Linked DNA regions of Homo sapiens: regions 1 and 3 are each linked to region 2. The links are contacts of gene promoters, found by promoter capture Hi-C in blood cells and fetal thymus (Javierre and others, 2016). All regions are on one chromosome and are shown on one strand. The core of a region is centred on a gene start or on the middle of the fragment in contact, and the rest is flanking DNA. Distances in the headings are between cores, read along the strand shown.

Region 1 (3,521 bases), core at 781-3,280, 74 kb before region 2:
TATCGTTTTACTTAAGAGCATTTTAAAGAGTCCAATATGTATGTAACAGAAAGCAAACATTTTGTGTCAACACGTTCAAGTGAAGCTGCCTCTGCAAAAGGCATTGCTACGTGTATTTATTTCATTCTGAGCTGACACTAATCGAGTACTATAAACATCAGCACACTGAGAGGTTTCATTTAGTTAGGCTGCTTGCCAAACTTGGGGGGAAAAATATACCAAACATGCCCGTGATCATCGTCTTAACAACTAAGCTTGGAGGTCGTTAACTGCATTTCCCTGACATTGCAGGATGGCTCCTGGCTCCAGGGCCACACCTTAGGACATATTCATTTCTGTTCCCAGAACACATCTCCACTGTCTATTTAAAAAATTTTTCCTTTTTGCACCGATTGTAGCTACCCTGAACATGTGCTAGAATAAACGCCTGAAGCATTCATAGTTTGGGAAGCCTTGCTAGTCAACCTATAAGGAAAGCTCATGCCTGATCTCAGTTTTTTCCTATTCTTATTTTTTTTTAACCCAAAGGAGTTTCCAAAAATGGCTATGTATCGACTCAGTCCATTGCTCAATAGAAATGTCATAGTTACCAAGGAATGCCAAATGAAGCTTTATTTTTCATTTCAATGTTTTACTTGTAGATCGATAAAAATGTAAAGATTTTTGAGCCAAATCAGTGAGTTATTTTCTGTATTTCACTTTCATCTTTCCTTATTGTGTGACCTTTTATTTAGAAACATTGATTGCTTCCTACCATTTGCTTAATGATTTTGACTTCATCTCTTTGGGTATCAGATTGGAGTAATAAAAGGAACAAAAAGTCACACTGCCCTATTTCTAGTGCTATAAACAAAATTGCATGAAAATGAAGGCCAAAATAAGTACTTGAAATGCAAATGCATTTTAGAATGGAAAATAAATTTCAGAAAAGCTGCTGTGTTGTTATCAATGTGTGCTGGCGTTAAATTTTGACTCCATAGGAAAAGGGTAGGAATAGAAGCAGAGAACACCAAACAACTGCTTTATGGCTCAGCTAGCCTCAGTACTCCTGTGCTGTGTGTACGAACTCCCATATACTTTAATTAATTAGCATAGGGTGTGTGGCACACAGATGGGATAAAAGAATTAATTCCTTTATTAAGAACTTGGATAAAGGAATTAAACTTTGATACAGACGAGATAGACAAGATGAAGTACTCATCGTAAGACAGTCCCTGCAAAGTCAATCTTGTTCGTCACATTTCTCATGGGAGGTTTTCTGATAGGATTTTGCAGATAGCTTGATGAGTAAGCACTTGACCTATCACTATGCCCAAGGCTTTGGTGCACATTACCATATACTTTCTATGCTGTCCTGTCCTGGCTCTTCTTTTCTCTGAACTTCTAACATTTATTTAAAAGAAAGCAAGAGAAAGAAGGCACAAAACATATTTCTTTACATATCCCAAATTACCACTCCATGTGTAATGAAAACCACCCATTTAAAATACAAGAACTTTTGTATGTTATATGCTAAGACCTATTAACCTTCCCAGAAGAGTGGAGAACAGGGGAACAGTTACTTTCACCAAATTGTCTATGGGTAGACTCAGGCTTCCATCCTATCGCCAAAGGGTAAAACCCAGTGAAGCTTCCTAAACTGGAAATCTTCTCCTGCCCCTGCAAATCCCTCTCGAGACCTCTCTGTATCCTGAAAGGTAGACTTTACAAACTGCTTCAGCCGGCAGCCTTGCCCTCTGACTTCTGGTTGAGTTGGCCACTGGGGGGTAATGGCAGATCAGAGGGAGGAAAGAAAGTGAAGTTGGGGTATTATGGGCTCCTTGTGACCTTTCTGGAGGGGATCTTTGTAGGTGGCTGATTTCCTAAGGGCACAGCCCCTGTTAGGTAGCCCTCTCCATACCGATCTCTCTCTCTCTCCCCCCTCCTCCCCCTCCCCTCCTTCTCCTCCTCCTTTTCTGGGTTCTGACAACTGTCCGGGTTTTGGCAACCTCTCCTTTGCCTTCTCCATCAAAAGTGAGTATTTAATGGAGCCCCAGATGTTATTATTCATCCTTGGACATTGCAGTATCCCTTGTTGTTTTCTGATACTTTACCCACACTTTTGCTAATTGCCCCTTTGTTAAACTCTCTTCAAACTACCCCATTTTCGTATGCTAACGCTTTCCTGCCAGACCGTGTTTGATAGATCTAATGTATACATTAGTGCAAAGTTGCACACTAATGTACAGGATCCTTGAAAATATCATCAATCAGAAGCAGAAAAATAAAATATCAGAAAATCTCTTTGTAATAAAGAGTCTGACTCCATTTTTGATGTTTGCAAACAACTTTCAATCCCCAGTCTTCCCCCTTCCCCTCTTGCCCCATATCTGGACAAGCTGGTAAGAAAGCCTGGGTGATCTCTCTTTTGGTTCAAATCACACAAGCTTCAGCTGCACCCAAGATCCGTTATGCCAACCCCATCCCCTAACCACAAGAAAAGCCAAGTCATTTGCTTTCACTGCTCTCTCAAGCCATTTGTGGACCTGCTTGGGAGCCTACCCACTCTCCCCAGAAAGCCTCATTCTGTAAGTCATAACCTTTTCATTCCCTCTGGTACATGTGTGGCATCAGCAGTCTTGCCATCCAAACCAAATTTGTGTGTGTGTGTGTGTGTCCACTCTGTCTCTAACCACAACAGTCTCCATCTATTCACTATCAATGAATTCCCATTCAACTTACATAAATACATTCGACACAAATTCAGCAATATACCATTGGCTAATGGAAGAAGCACAAATGTAAACTGTCAGTCCCCTGACATTCCAACCACAATCTGCGCCCTGGGGTGAGCAGGACAGGGAGCTAGGCCTCTCTTCTCCAGGCTGTCTCCCTCCTGAATGCCTCTCAGTGGATGCCTTGGCAGATCATCCAAGAGATTGTTCAAAGAAAACTTTAACAATGGGAGATTTTTCTCATTGTAAATTAACTCTATAATCTGACCACTCCTCTCTCCAGAAGAGCAGAATCTCCACCACTTATGCTCACTGCATTATTTACTAAGTGGTAACTTTTATTGATTAGGATTGTTTCTACTTATAAATCATTAAAAGGCACTCAGGCTGGCTTAAGTCAAAGAAGGAGAGGGCTGGGAGAATAAGGCAGAAACAGAAGGAATCAGGGACTGGTATGCAGCCGAGCCTCCTGAGGTACCCTCCCCTCACCCTTATGTAAATTGTTCAATTTTGCAGCAATCTAACAAAATTGCCAAACCATTTTCTACCTCAGAACCTTCCTAAAGACTGATCCTTTTGCCTGAAACCTTTCACAGGCAGAATATTTGCTTGGCTAACTCCTACTCACCTGCACATCTCAGCTTAGACACCACTTTTCTGGGATACATTTCTCCACTTTGGACTCACTTATGGCTCTCACCAGTGTGTTGTGATCACCTGAAGGATACTTGACTGTGTCCTTTATTGACTCAGTGAAAACCATGGGAAGACAAAGACCATGATTTAGAGATGCCAGATAAGAAGCAG
Region 2 (3,807 bases), core at 363-2,862:
TCGGTTTGAGTCAAGGGAAAGGGGGGCATCCTGTTCTTCGAAGTGACTCAGCGGCGCAAGAGGCCCCAAGTGCCCGAGGTTCCGCGATTGATTCGATTTCACACTTCCACCGAGACTCTCAGTCACTAGCTAGCGTTTGTTTCCCGTTCCACCAAGCCGGGAGAGGGGCGGTGTCCGGGTTCTTCTAGAGACCACTCCTGGGGCTCTCTCCCTTCCCGGGATTTCTGCCTTCCCGCCCCTCGTGCTGCTGAGCTAAAGTCTTGATCACAAAAACACAGCAAGGGGGAAGAAAGATCTACGCCCACCTCCGCACTCGCACCGAAGGCTCCAAACTCCGACCTCCTCTTTATTCCCAGAAACGACTCTGCGCTGAACCGCAGTGCCCGGGCACGCACAAGGGGCTTTCTAGGTCCTTTCGTTGTTTCCCTTCCCCCGTGCTTCTTTGCCCACGCACCCCACCCCCCCGCCCCACCACCCCGACATCAGATAGTTTATTATGAGCTTCTGATTTCCCTGTCCGACGCCGTACGGCGGCCCCAGCCTGGTGGACCCACCCGCGCAGGCCGGGGTGCCGCTGAGTTCCCGGAGCTCGGGGCACGTCAGCACAGCGGCCAGAGGAGGCCCGGCGGAGCTTCGGGCGCGGACCGTCCCACCGTTTTGCGCCAGCGCCAAGGTCCAGGAAGCCTGGAGTGGGAACAATCTCTCTGGAGCTCTCAGGAACCTAACAATCTCTCTCTCTGCCTCCTTGGCTCCTTTTCCTTCCCATCCTCCCAAGTTGCTTTTCTTGTGACATTAACATTTTTTTTTCGCAGTTTTTGGTCTAGGAAGTTAAAGAATTGTGCAAAACTGAAATTCTTTTAGAAATCCATGTTTTAAAACGAAAGAGAGGACACAGAAAATAAGAGACCTCTCCGCCACAATACTGCCAGGAGCAAAGCCATCACCGAACATGGACATCCCGTTGAAACCACACCAGAAGGGCCCAATAAACAAAATTGACAGAATGGAAGTGTTTAGGAAAAGAGATCTAATGAAAAAAAAATATTGAGACAGAGAAAGTCGGCATGCAGTCTTCCCACCACCCCCAGCCCCCGCTGGCAGCACCTTCCCTCCGACCGCACCTCTGTCCCTCAAACCTTTCCACTGAGACCTATTTTTGCCCATATTTCTCTAAACTTGGGAGCAGCCAGGAAAGAAAGGAGAGCGAATGTTTCAATTCCTCTCTCCAAACTCAGAGGAACCTCCACCAACCGCCTGGCCACCTTCTCTTGCCTTCCTTCCGTTCCTGATGTGTGATTTGGTTAGAGAAATTGGGAAGGGGGGTGGGGTGGAAGAAAGTTAAAAAAAAAATCAGGAAGGCGTAAGCTGGAGCGGTGAGTGTGTCAATCAGAGGGTTTTGTGCCTGGGGGCTCCTAGCGGTTCGGAGCAGAGGTGTCCCAGGGCGGCCCCACAATGAATATGAATAGGAATCCTTGCTAAATGGGACAGCAAAGCGCACCGCCCTGAATGATGGCACGTCATCCTAACCAGCCCAGGATAGATAGGAGGGCTCCTTTTGTCTCTTTTCTCCGCCGCAGCTCTATAAAAGCCCCTCTTTTTCAGCGTGAGGTTAGTTCAAGCACACACCAACTAGCTGTCCAGGAAGCAGCCTAACCAGAGAGAGGGGCGTGGGAGGGAGAGAGGCGGGGAAAAGCAGCGTCTCCGCTTTTCTTCTCACGTCTTGCCGCGGAGAAGTGGGTTCCTGGGCAGTGCAGATTTTTTTTTTTTAATTCAAGATTTTCTTTAATTTCCCGCCTAAAGCCTCCCCACGGTAGGGCCGCATCCCCTGTAATAAAATGAATTCTGATTCGAGCTCTGTCTCCAGCAGAGCTTCATCTCCGGACATGGATGAGATGTACCTGAGGGACCACCACCACCGCCACCACCACCACCAGGAGAGCCGTCTCAACTCGGTCTCGTCCACGCAGGGCGATATGATGCAGAAGATGCCCGGGGAAAGCCTCTCGCGGGCTGGCGCCAAGGCCGCGGGAGAGAGCAGCAAGTACAAAATCAAGAAGCAGCTGTCGGAGCAGGACCTACAGCAGTTGAGGCTGAAGATCAACGGACGCGAACGCAAGCGGATGCACGACCTGAACCTAGCCATGGACGGGCTGCGCGAAGTCATGCCCTACGCGCATGGGCCGTCGGTGCGCAAGCTCTCCAAGATCGCCACACTCCTGCTCGCCAGAAACTACATCCTCATGCTCACCAGCTCCCTGGAGGAGATGAAGAGGCTGGTTGGCGAGATCTATGGGGGCCACCACTCGGCCTTTCACTGCGGGACCGTGGGCCACTCGGCCGGCCACCCCGCGCACGCGGCCAACTCCGTGCACCCGGTGCACCCCATCTTGGGCGGCGCGCTCTCATCTGGCAACGCCTCGTCACCGCTGTCCGCCGCCTCACTTCCCGCCATCGGCACCATCCGGCCTCCCCACTCGCTACTCAAGGCGCCCTCCACGCCGCCCGCGCTGCAGCTGGGCAGCGGCTTCCAGCACTGGGCTGGTCTGCCCTGCCCCTGCACCATCTGCCAGATGCCGCCGCCGCCGCACCTGTCCGCTCTCTCCACAGCCAACATGGCCCGGCTGTCGGCCGAGTCCAAGGACTTGCTCAAGTGAGCAGCGGGCGGGCCCGGCTGCCAAGGAGGAGGGAGAGCGGCGGGAGGGGCCGCGGTGCCGGGCCGGGAGGGAAGAGGGAGGCTGCACGCTCGGCCCACGGGAGGGCAGGCTCCGGGGCCCGCAGCCTCCCACGCTGTCTGAGAGATCTCAGACTCCACTTGACCCCCGGAGGGAAAGGACCAAAATCAAACCGCAATTTCTAGGTGGTAGCAAAGGGGGACTCGAACCAGATGTCGTGTGTTTTGCATGCATGCTTCTTTTCCCCATGCCGCGCCAGTATTTTTCACTGCCATATGCTCTTGTCAAAACTGCATTTGTTGTATAAAGATGGGATCGGTGTAGTTAAAAACTTGCGAAGGGACTTTTGAGTTGGCTTTCTCTGACTCTGTGTTCTCGCTTTGGAAAAAGACGGCCATCCCTTTTGTGCAAAACAAATGTAAATATTTTCTTGAGATGGATGCGATTATGATTGTCTCTGTCCTTGCCACAGTTTTTCTAGAGACAATGGAGAGAGAAAGAGAGAGAGAGCGCGAGAGAGATCAAGACCCAAGTTTTGAATCTCAACCGAGGTCCAGGGCATGACACCTCCTATGTGGGTTTTCCTTTCGACGCAGTGTAGGTCAAAAGAATGCATGCACGCTTCTAAATGAATCTTGTCTGAATATGTCGTGCAGGCTGTGGTGCCGTTTTCCTTGTAACAAGGATTTATTAGTGAATTATCCCAAGTACTCCATATATCTGTCTGTGGTTGTATGAAATGAAAAAAGGGGCAGAGTGCAAAGACCCACACTCACGCACACGCGCTTCTTCTCCCACCCCCACCCCCTTCAAACTTTATTCGGAACCTTCCTTTGCTGTTCTGGGGCCGCTATTGTAAAAGCCTGGGCTCCCTCTAGTAGCTTGCGCCACCCCCCCTCGCTCAGTTATTCTGCATGCGGGGTTGGCTCTCTCTATTATCAGCTTTGAAAACTTATCCTGGTTTTGGGAGGGGTGCCGTTTTTATTTTCCTGAACATTTGCTTGAAATATTTTGTTAGGGCCTCAAAGACGATACCTGTCTTTATTTTTTATATATTCTTGATAACTATGATATATTTATTAATAACCAGTGTTTCTGGATGAGATTTCAAATAAAAAAGAACCTTTAAATCGTG
Region 3 (3,532 bases), core at 713-3,212, 120 kb before region 2:
ATTGCCACCAATGCACCTCCCAGTGCTCCATGCCATCCTTCAAGGCCTGCCCCTGTAACTGGTAAAAGGTAAGACCAGGTCAATCAATCCAATATCCTAGCCCATGGTAACATATGAGCTTATCAATGTGTGATTTCCCTTAGATTATATAATGTTTATTCTGTCTTAAATGGCCACCATCTAGGCCCTGACCTATCTCTCCAAGTGGAGGCCAGTGAAGAAGGTATTCCTAGAAGTGAGGGGTTGATCCTGCCTATCGCATCTTCCAAGTGTCTCACACTCTACCCAGTGGGACTCCAGGTTGACTCTAAGACACTGATTCCTACCTCATGATATGAAAGTCTAAAGATATAAATGCTACATTAATGATTTCCCCTGAAAAATACTTATATAAGACTTACAGAAAAAGCCTTACAAGACTAAGGAAATACTTATACAAATTTTGAAAATGCCAACCCTGCATTTTAAAAAACTGAACATCTGGGGCACAGTGGCTCATGCCTGCAATCCCAGTACTTTGGGAGGCTGAGGCAGGTCAATCATTTGAAGTCAGGAGTTTGGGACCAGCCTAACATGGTGAAACCCTGTCTCCACCAAAACAAAAACCAGCCAGGTGTGGTGATGTGCACCTGTAGTCCCAGCTACTCAGGAGGCTGAGGCATGAGAATCTCTTGAACCCTGGAGGTGGAAGTTGCAGTGAGTCAAGATCGTGCCACTGCACTCCAGCCTGGGCGACAGAGTGAGACCCTGTCTCAAAAAAATAAACAAATACAACAATAAATAAATAAATAAATGAACATCTGGCAAATACAGAGAGAGAGAGACTTGTAGAGCTGTAAATATAATAAAAATATATAAGGTAACTTTTGAAGTATTCTATTTGCTGTATACAAAAAGGCAGATTATTGGGATTAAATTCAAACTCCTCTGCCTATTTGTTGTCTATGTAACTGTTTTGAGCCTCAGTTCCTTATCCGCAGAATGGGGACACTAATATCTTCCTCAGAGAGTGTAATTTCATTCATAAAGCATCTGGTTCTGTGTTGAATCCACACAAGCACTTGGTATGTGATCATTCATCATTTGCTACTGTCATGAATAGATTCTCCTTTTTGACTTCAGATTTTCAACAGTTCCTGGCGGGGGACAAGGGGGGCATGAGTTTCAGGGCTTAATGTCAAATGCAATTGCTGTACTGCCTGAAAATGGCAGCAGCAAGCTTGTACCTAAGAAGATCAAGTTAATTTATAAACTGCCAGCAGAATTGGGGGTAATCTCTTACTCTGTCATCCAAACTGGGACACTGCTAAACATGCAAGACACTGAAAAATTATGCTGGGAGAACAGGGAGAAGCCAAAACTATTCTAGGCAAACTAGGACACATGATCACTCTACCTCAATTGAATTTTTTTGAGTTTAGATTACTAGCATAACCAGTAAGAGAAGAAAGAGAAGACCAACATTTCTAAAGCACTTAGAAAGTACCCAGCAGTACAATCAATATGCAAATCCATTTCATCTTTGCCACAAATCTGAGAGGTAGTTATCCTATTCCAGTTTAACAGATAAGGAAATGGATGCTCGAAGTAGTAATTTACCAAATGTCATGCGAACAGTAGAGCACAGATTTGAACTGTGGTCTGCCTGACTACAAAATCCCTGCACTTGTTCCTCACTGTATCAGTGATTTCCCAAACAAGTTCTAGCAGAAGTATACTTCCTTTCTAGTAAAATAATTAAAACAGAGAGAACCAAGGAAGCCCAGATGAAAGCTGGAGTATGAGGCCTGAGGCAGTGCCTGTGGGGCACCACCCTGTTCTCTGCAGAAACCCGTGAGACATTCACTAGAGTCCCAGAGCCCTAGGGATCATAGTTCAAAACTCATCTGTAGTTTCCAGCCCAACCTTCAAAAGACCCAGGGGTGAGGAGGGGTAGTCGAGATGGGACTAGTCTTGCTTCCAGCAGCACAAGGACAAACTGGTATCAGGGCATCTGTATTCAGGGCTTAGCAAGGCCTTCAAAATCTATTTCACGTGAGGGCATCTGGGAATGAAAGCAAGAATCCTAATTCTTCCATAGTCCAAAAGAGCATGATATGAGGAGGAGGACTGAATGTATCAAATTTCGTGCACCTGAGAAAAAACAGCAAAAGATTTTAAAGCAAAAGTGTGATGGAGACAGTGAATGTGCTGCCTTCCTAGAGCATGCATGGTTTATGGAGCTGAATGGCGTGCCGACTCACTGATGACAAAAGCACTGCTAGAAACCTCCCTGAAGGTGCTGCAGGCAGAAATTTGCCCAACTAAGCTCACCCAGGAACACCAGATCTCCAGGAATCAGACATTCACATTCAAAGTTCTATGAATAGAATATCAGCGCAAAGAAATCACAATGAGCTTTTAGGTGGCCACAGAGAGATTGGGTGGACAAAGTCCTTCTTTAACCCTACTGGCAATATACTCAATTGGCATGATTTTTGGAAAGCAAAAAGTCATCAATTCTGACAAGTGTCATACTATTTGACCTTTAAAAGTTTTAATAACATGCAATGAAATTATGAAAGTACATTGTGAAAACATGCTGAATGGAAATGTCAGCTTCGAAGTTAATCTCGTAGGCCTTTAAAATGCTTAAGATTTCACTTAATATTGTGTTAATATGAGGTTGACATCTTATATGGAACAAACATCAAGCACAAGCTTACTCAATTGTCTTAGTAACTCCCATCATCCAAATGCTCTGGTTCTAGCCTCTATCTCCTCATGTAAAGAAATAATAAGGGCAATCATGAATACCTTTCTAATCTGAATAGCAGAGAAACAACATTGTCTGATTTAAGGTAAAACAGAAATGGGGGCTATAGGCATCAAGTCTGTCATAAACCTATTGTGGGGCCTTGAGGGAGACAAAAAGAGTTTGGCCTTTGTTTTTGCAACAGGGATAAAACTCACAATATTTATGAGGAACAGCTAGTAAAGGCAGAAAGGGCTATAGTTTTGAGGAAAAAGTAAATGTTCAAACCATAACCTTGTTTGGTCTTAATTTGTGTTAACGGGGCCAAAGCAAGGTGTTTTTGTTTGCTTTGTTATTGTTTTAAATGACCAAGTTGCAAGAATAGTAAATCTACCCCAATTTTATCATGACAAAGTATAGCTACAAAAACAGCCTTCTGAGTTGCATAAAAAAAGAGTGTGTATTCGCTGTTTCAATAGCAAAGACTACCTGTAATTATTTCCTCAGTGGGGCTGCATAAAACTTGTATTCCATTTAATCTTATACTAAACAATTTCTATATTTCATGTCATAGATTAGAATGAAAATGGAGATAGTTCGTCAACACTGATCTGTGATATAAAAAAGAACAGCGAAGCGGAGGGTATGAGAGTGCATAAAAATGTTTTGTGTTCTGACCAGTACATTGCTTTAAAAAAAATTTTACAGTCAGGCCCAATTGTTCATTCTCACCATGCAGAAGATACTCACATATTCATTTTTAAAAGGGCAAATCAACCATAATTCAGTTTATAAACT

The links. Contacts are between HindIII fragments. The CHiCAGO score rates a contact against its expected background, and 5 or more counts as called.
Region 1: a fragment that was not itself captured here is called in contact with the fragment with the promoter of OLIG3 in region 2 in 1 of 17 cell types (non-activated CD4 T cells); the score reaches 5.2 in non-activated CD4 T cells.
Region 3: a contact is called between a fragment that was not itself captured here and the fragment with the promoter of OLIG3 in region 2, in 1 of 17 cell types (non-activated CD4 T cells). The highest score is 5.0, in non-activated CD4 T cells.

Annotation. Positions count from the first base shown.
Region 1 is chr6:137,567,230-137,570,750 of GRCh38, reverse strand. No RefSeq gene overlaps it. Among named protein-coding and RNA genes, the nearest start is that of OLIG3, 75 kb to the right of the region's middle. The HindIII fragment of the contact is 796 bases long and covers 1,633-2,428 here.
Region 2 is chr6:137,492,199-137,496,005 of GRCh38, reverse strand. It overlaps OLIG3 (oligodendrocyte transcription factor 3), which reads left to right and starts at 1,612. Exons shown (of 1, transcript NM_175747.2): 1 at 1,612-3,807. The coding sequence starts at 1,836. The coding sequence ends at 2,654. RefSeq lists enhancers at 1-521, 2,203-2,702. The HindIII fragment of the contact is 6,431 bases long and covers 1-3,807 here.
Region 3 is chr6:137,614,793-137,618,324 of GRCh38, reverse strand. No RefSeq gene overlaps it. Among named protein-coding and RNA genes, the nearest start is that of LINC03004, 49 kb to the left of the region's middle. RefSeq lists an enhancer at 2,857-3,532. The HindIII fragment of the contact is 1,481 bases long and covers 1,222-2,702 here.